2 separate regions of the Homo sapiens genome follow, and region 1 is linked to region 2. Evidence: promoter capture Hi-C in 16 types of primary human blood cells and fetal thymus (Javierre and others, 2016). All regions are on one chromosome and are shown on one strand. Each heading gives the region's core, a stretch centred on a gene start or on the middle of the fragment in contact. The rest is flanking DNA. Distances are from core to core; before and after follow the strand shown.

Region 1 (3,478 bases), core at 955-3,454, 87 kb before region 2:
ATAGAGAAAATAAGTATATTAATATATTTTATAGACTAGTGAAGAGATCTCATATGTAAAACTGAATCATAACCAAAGTTTTCTGAGGTACTTTACTTATATACATGTTTCTTTTATACTTGTTTAAAATCTTATAATGGCTTTTGTTGAATGCATAATGCACTTTTAAAAGTTTAGTCTGTTACATAAAATAAAAGTGGTAGGTTATTACGTTGTCGTAACCTGGCTGGCCAGCTGGTGTCACTGTGGCACAGGCAATGAAATTACAATTTTTTTTTTTTGTTCTTGTTTGTGTTTCTCATTGCAGATATTTGATTTTTCATTTTACTTCCTTTCTTAGTCTGTCCTAAGAGAGGCCCTGGTTAGCTTTACACTCAATATTCACATCTATGTAGAGATGATTTTGTCCTAGCAATCCCTTTGCCAGCAGTTTAGTCATTGCCTCGTATGTTAATGTTTTTAGGTTTGTTCTTTTTTTTTTTTTTTTTTTTTTTTGAGACAGAGTCTCACTCTGTCGCCCCCAGGCCGGAGTGCAATGGTGTGATCTCGGCTCACTGCAACCTCCGCCTCCCAGGTTCAAGCTGTTCTCCTGCCTCAGCCTCCCAAGTAGCTGGGACCACAGTCATGTGCCACCACGCCCGGCTAATTTTTGTATTTTCAGTGGTGACAGGGTTTCGCCATGTTGGCCAGGCTGGTCTTGAACTCTTGACCTCAGGTGATCCTCCTGCCCTGGTCCCCCAAAGTGCTGGGATTACAGGCATGAGCCACTGCACCCGGTGTCTTCTTTTTATTAAGATGGGGCAGCAACAGCCAGATGTGGAGAGGATAATCATCTTAGTATTATCTCAGTTTTTTACAGCAAAAATATTTCTGCTTCTAAATAAATGCATTTTATTTAGAAAATAAAAATAAAATTATTATTTTAAGAATTATTCTTTAAAATTATTCTTTTAAAAATTATTCTTTTAAAAAAGAGTATTACAATTTAATCTAAATAATTCAAATTACTCTGATTTGTAAACTGTGTGTAGTATTTGTAATGGATGCTGTTATAGTGCTGGTCAAAATTAATTAGAAATTTGCAACTCATACCATGAGTTTAAGAGCAGAAGCAAATCATACTAACTCCACATGGTTGAAACTTCTTGTGAATTAATTTATAGTTGGTAGATTTAAAGACATTGCCTCCTTAGACCTAGCTAAAATGGAATTTTTCCCGTGGAAGGCCCAAAACAAAAATCCACTAATGTAGGGTGTTTTTACCTATGAACACTTTCTCTAGCAAAATGTCCATACACAAACCTACCAAATTTTGCATTCAGATTTAGTGAGCTTAGGACCCCCTGAACCCTGCATAAGGGTTCTCAGGTTCCCTGAGTCTTAAGAACCCCCCACCTGTAAGTTTTAAGTGATATCACAGAGTATTCGTTCAGTAGAACTACCTTAGAGATCTCGGAGTCTCACTATGTTATTTTATAGTGGAGAAAAAAGGCCCTTGAAGTTGTTATGGAATTACCCAGTATTAATTAAATAGCTGTACCAAAAGCTTATGTGATTTGACTATAACTGCAGTGAGTGCAAGAGCGCTCTCTTTCATTACCTTATTTCCAGGGTTTGGTAACAGTTTTTGGCACTTACTACCAAAGAGGGCCTTTCAATAAATGGTGAATAAATGAATGTTTATTCACGTAAGAACGAGGACGAGGACTAGAAACCAGATTTTTAGACTTCTCTGAAAAACCAGGGAAGAGATATTGTAATCTTATATTTGATACATCTTGTGTCCTTAATTTCCCTGCATGTGGTATTTGGGTTTGTGAGTGTGAGTCTTTGTTGTTATAGTTTTATTTTTAATGATTTTGTTGAGCTAAGTCGTTTCTTCATTCCCTTGTACTTAGCAGTCTGCAATATCATACACTACGATCTGCAGAAGATTTGGGAAAGAAATACAAGAAATTGTTGGAACACTGTTCCTCCAACTCCTACCCCCACCAGTCACATGTTGTAACTTATTTATCTCCTTTTCCCAAGAGATTGGAATCACTGTTAGGTCAGAGATAGTGTGTATACACAGCACAAGTTTTGGTTCATAGTAGTTGCTCAATAAAAGAATGAATTCTAGTAAATAGACTTAAAAGTTGACATCTTTTCTCCTTCAGCCATCCTACCCTAGGGTTTTCATAGCATGTGATTACAGTTTGTCTCCATTCTATATAGGAATGCAATATAATGTTTCCACGTTACTCACACATAAAAAATGTAGTAGCTCGGTCAATGGCAATAATGATTTGATGGGGGCTTTTTCAGAGAGCCAGTTTTGACCAAATATGTATGTTGATCCCTTTTAGAGGTATGGCAAATGGTTTTCAAGGATTGTTTAACCCATACAAATCTAGATTCATTTTAATACTGTTTGCTTTTCAGCTATAGGCTATACTTTTAATACTATTACTACAAATTAAAATTTTAAGTATATTTTTAATATACACATACATTAAATTAATTCTGGATTGAGAGTCCTGTTGAAAATACAATTCATAATGAAAGGTTGAAGGCTTATCTGTCTTAATTATAATCTGAGAGTGTGCCCTTATTTATAAACAAAAGCTATTAGTAATATGTTTTTTTTTATTTCTTGGAGGAATTTTGTTGAAAATACAATTCATAATGAAAGGTTGAAGGCTTATCTGTCTTAAATTATAATCTGAGAGTGTGTCGTTATTTATAAACAAAAGCTATTAGGAATATGTCGTTTTTAAATTTTTTGAAGGAATTATTTTGAATGTAGATACATATAAATATTTCCACAGTGATAGTATGTGAATGAATTCAGTATTTCTTTGATGCAAGTTGGTACATGATTCAAGCTTTTGAACTACTTAGAATCTAGACTAAGTGGGTGAGGCCAAGAGGGTAGGCAGTGAACCACCAAAAGGTACTTGTAAGTTCTTGTTAAATATTGTTGAATGAATGGGAGAGAGGGAGAAAAGAAGATTGAAATTGTGTGTCTGTGGCAGGCAGGTGTGTGTGTGTATGGTGGTAAATGGAAAAAAATCAATAAAAATGTTAGATTTACTCTCTTGATTAGATGGAATAAGATACAGGAGGATATTGTGATCATAAAGTGAGTTATTAAACTTATTTAAAGTGAGAATCTAGAAGTGTTGCTTCCGAAGTGATGACAAGGTCTAAGAGTGGCAATTTGAGTTTAGGTTGCCTGAGTGGAATATGGGGTATGAAAGATGAAAGGCATTAGAAATGAAGATGTTAATGAAATCTGAGACTAAGGTGTAGATTGGGTTATACTAAGTCTAAAATGTCTTTTATCTGCCCTGACACTTTTTTGGCATGTTGTCCAACTACAGATTCCCAAACCTGATCCAGATTACCAATTTTACGCATTTCTGCAAGTATACGGAGGGAAAATAAAATCACATACCTTTACATATCATTATTACTATCCCCTGTCATTCTGCAT
Region 2 (3,606 bases), core at 1,035-3,534:
TTAACTTCTCTAAGCTAGGAAATCAGAATGCTTATAGGATCATGGTGAGAATTAAGTGTGGTGCCTGATATGTGGCCAACAGCAGATAAATACTTGTTCCCTCTTCCACTACTTGGGGTTACTGCAGTGATGGTGCATGTGAAAAATAAAACAGGTTACTTGGGAAAGAGCAGCAAATTTAGCAAATACTTGAATTTTAAAGAATTTAAGAGAGACAAGCAAAGGAAAAGCTAGGATTTCAAACAGAAAAACCAGGTCTTAGGTAAAGAGGGGGAGGTGGTGGGTGTGGGAAGAGTACTAGTTTTGAGGGAAAGATGAGTTGATTTTTGGATATTTTTATTTGGACTTGAAATTTTACAACGATAATATGGATTCAAGAGTCCCTGACATTGAAGAGAAACCCGGAGATATACCTTGAAGCTCAAATTTCCAAGCCCCTCATTTTCCCTGGGCCCTTCCAAGGATACATGTCTAGTATTATGTTTGTAAGTTTTTATTGCTTTCCTTTAAGAAGTTCCCCCAGGAGTTATACAAGCTTCAGGTCCCACGACATCTGGATGGGTTCAGTTTGAAATCAGAAGGTATTTCTTTGGGATACTGGGAGATCGAGAGTTGGAAAAACCTTGTTACTGTCCTCAAAGGAAGAGAAGGGTCAGCAGAGAAGTCCAGAGAAGCATAGAGAAGGCCTTAGGGTAGGATGCTGCCAAGGAGATCAAAGGGATGAGGGGCTGAGAATGGGTCACCAGACTTGACTTCTCAAAAAGTAACTGTTTTAGAGTGCATGCTCAATACAGTTGGGGGGAGGCCCACTGTCACGGGGTTGAGGAGGGAGGAGTAGGCAAGGGGTGTGGACTCCCCATTTAACAAGGTCGACAGTAAGAGAAAAGAAGATGCCACTCAACTCCTCACTTTCGATCTGCTGTAATTTAACTTGAGCCTGAACAGTCAATATTCCTTTGGGATTCATATTAGCTCCCTGAGCATGACATTGTCTTTCTCTTTATTACATTTTCTTATTCCTTAAGATTTTAAGATTTTCTTAATTGGATCCATTTCTCTTCATGCACCATCAATGGCCAAGAAATGGGCTATTGGCAGGCACAGTTTTGGTTTTGGGGTTGATTGGTTTGTTTACACTAATAGTTTCTCTTTCTCGATCCAAGGCTTGACCAAGGAGGTCAGGAATTCTGTCCTGGGAGTTCAGGGACTGAGGACCAGGATGGAGGAAGCAAAAGGCGTCAGGCATTAGGCTGGAAACGTCTTGGTCGGTTATCTAGGATCAAAGAGTCAAAGGTAGCGATGACTTCATCCCCGTAGAGGGCGCCTCCCTACCCCGACAGTGGATTTTCGGTCAGCCGGTTTGCCCGGGATGTTTTCTTTGACTACTTGCTTCTCACTGGCGCCCCAAGTCACTTTGAAGAAAAAAAAAATGTGATTAAATCGATTCCCCTGTTTCTTTCTGTGAGGAGTGTGCCTTTCCCAGACAGCGTGCGTTCATTCGATGAGGCCTGGCAAAATTTTTGAGGGGTCTTTTTACGCTTTAATACAACCTAAAGGTTTCTGTTACCATCATCATTGAGAATTAAAAACAAAAACAAAATAAAAAACGGTAACAAATTTACAGCTTGGCAGGCCCCAGGGAGGAGCTGACCTTTGCGAAGCTCTAGCGCAGCCAGGTTTCAGCTGTAGGGGTTGGGACAGGTCAGTTCGCCCAAGTGCTGCTAGCTCTCCAGGGAGAAGCAAGTGTTGGGGCAGAGGGTGGTCTGGCGCGTGCGTCGGGGGGCGTGTGCGGGTGTGTGTGTGTGTGTGCGCGCGTGTATATAAGAGTGTGTGCGCGCCCGTGTGCACAAGAGAGGGTGCCTGGGAGGCTGTCGCAAAGGCTCCTTTGTGAAAGGCACTTGCAGGTTCAGAAGCCAGCTTGGCGCCTCCTCTCGCCCGTTCCCCGAGGACACCTGGCTCTTCTGGGCAGCCCAGCTATCTCCGTCTCCTGCCGCCCCTACTTCTCTCGGTGGCCCCCGGCCTAGCCCCGCACCAGCCTTCGGGTGCGGGAAGCAGTGTGCCCCGAGGCGTCTCCCCCGGGGCCCCGCGCAGGTGAAGGTGAGCGCGTGGCGGTGACGGTGGCGCGCGTAGGGTGGAAGGGGAGGCGAGGGAGGGGCGGAGCAGGAAAGGGCGCGCTGCCCTTCCCGGCCGGCCAGGAGCAGCGAGGCCGCAGCTTTGTTACCTGAGGCTGCCGCTGCGCCCCGCCCCGCCCTGCCCCCTCGCGCTCAGGGTTGGCTGGGCCTGCAGTGACCGGGAGGAGGCGGCTACGCCGACACAACGGCGGGAGGCTGCAGCGGTCTGCGCGCCGGGAGCGGGGGCGCGCTGGCCGCGGGTGAGTGCGGGTCGGGCGGCCGAGGCGGGGGCGACCGCGGCGCGGGACACGGGGAGCTGGAGCCCCGCCGCTCGGGAGGGTCAGGGTTGGGGTGTTGTCCGGGACCCGAGGCTGAGGCGCCGAGAAGCGCGGCTGATGGGTGCCGGGTCTCGGCTTCCTCCGAGCCTCACCGGGAAAGCTGGAGAGGAGGTTCCAGTTCCCTCCACATCCACCCCGGTGACTTTGGCGGCCGCCCTTACCCGGCCACGGAGAACAGCGATCGGTCCCTGGAGGCGAGGACGCGCCGGTGTGGACCCGCGTCTGGAGAACGAGCTGCATCGCCAAGGCTGCTGCGGGTCGCACCTGGGCGGTTGACTATTAGTCGTGGCTAAGACTTTCAGATCAACCGCCCCCTAGTTTATCCCGACCCTTGGGAGACAGCGGCGTCCCGCACGGAATGCGCAGCCGCGGCGCCGCGCTCGGTTCCCTAGCCAGCCGGGGGCCACGCCTGGCCCCTGACACAGTGGTGGGGCGGTGGCGGGGACCTAGTGCGGTGGTGCGGACCGAGGACCAGGCGCTTCTCGCCCCGACAAACTTGCTCCGGCCGCGCGAAGTTCGGATTGCAAGTTGCGCCCCGCGCCTGCAGGAGTGTGGGGAGGGGGAGGAAGCGGGTGGGCTGGGGATCAGCCTCCAAACAAGGGGTGTCCCCAGCTCTTGGAGAGCGGGTTCTGACCGGTTTCAAACGCCAGGAGTCTCCCCTCTGTTTTTCTCAGCGGCTCGACCCGGCTCCCTTTTGGCAGAGCCGCAGTGCGGCCGTGAGGCTTTTCCCCCGCGCCTGCGACCTGGATGGGGGACGTGGGAAGATGTCGCGGCGGAGGCTCCGGGTGGGTTGGGAGCGCGCGGCCGCCGCAGACCCGGTGTCTGCGAGCCGGAAGACCCCCCCTTTCGTTTCATTCACACGGACACCTCCCCTAGTTAGCCGTCTCCCACCCAACTTCTGGGCGCAGCGTGCTAAACCCCCGCAGAGGGGCTGGCGCCCTGGGGGGCGTGGCGTGGGGAGCGTGGGCTTTCCAGCGTGGGCCCCTCGGGGAGGGGGGCGGGGCCGAGACCCCCTCCAACTGGAGGGGCCGGGAATGGGCGAGCGGGTGCGGCGGCCGACCCAGCAGCTGCAGCCGCCGGACGGGAGAGCGGTCGGCGCTGCGGAAGGCCGAGGGTCGTGCAACGCCCGCGCTGGGCGCCCGCCCCGCAGTCCCCGC

Evidence for each region. Contacts are between HindIII fragments. The CHiCAGO score rates a contact against its expected background, and 5 or more counts as called.
Region 1: a contact is called between a fragment that was not itself captured here and the fragment with the promoter of FHDC1 in region 2, in 1 of 17 cell types (erythroblasts). The highest score is 7.9, in erythroblasts.

What each region holds. Positions count from the first base shown.
Region 1 is chr4:152,846,654-152,850,131 of GRCh38, forward strand. The region is part of intron 2 of ARFIP1 (ARF interacting protein 1); the gene reads left to right. Among named protein-coding and RNA genes, the nearest start is that of ARFIP1, 68 kb to the left of the region's middle. RefSeq lists an enhancer at 552-1,052. The HindIII fragment of the contact is 1,321 bases long and covers 1,545-2,865 here.
Region 2 is chr4:152,934,039-152,937,644 of GRCh38, forward strand. It overlaps FHDC1 (FH2 domain containing 1), which reads left to right and starts at 2,285. Exons shown (of 12, transcript NM_001371116.1): 1 at 2,285-2,371. LOC729870 (a long non-coding RNA gene) reads right to left here and starts at 2,799. Exons shown (of 2, transcript NR_136614.1): 1 at 2,611-2,799; 2 at 478-1,412. RefSeq lists a silencer at 2,241-2,330. The HindIII fragment of the contact is 3,900 bases long and covers 534-3,606 here.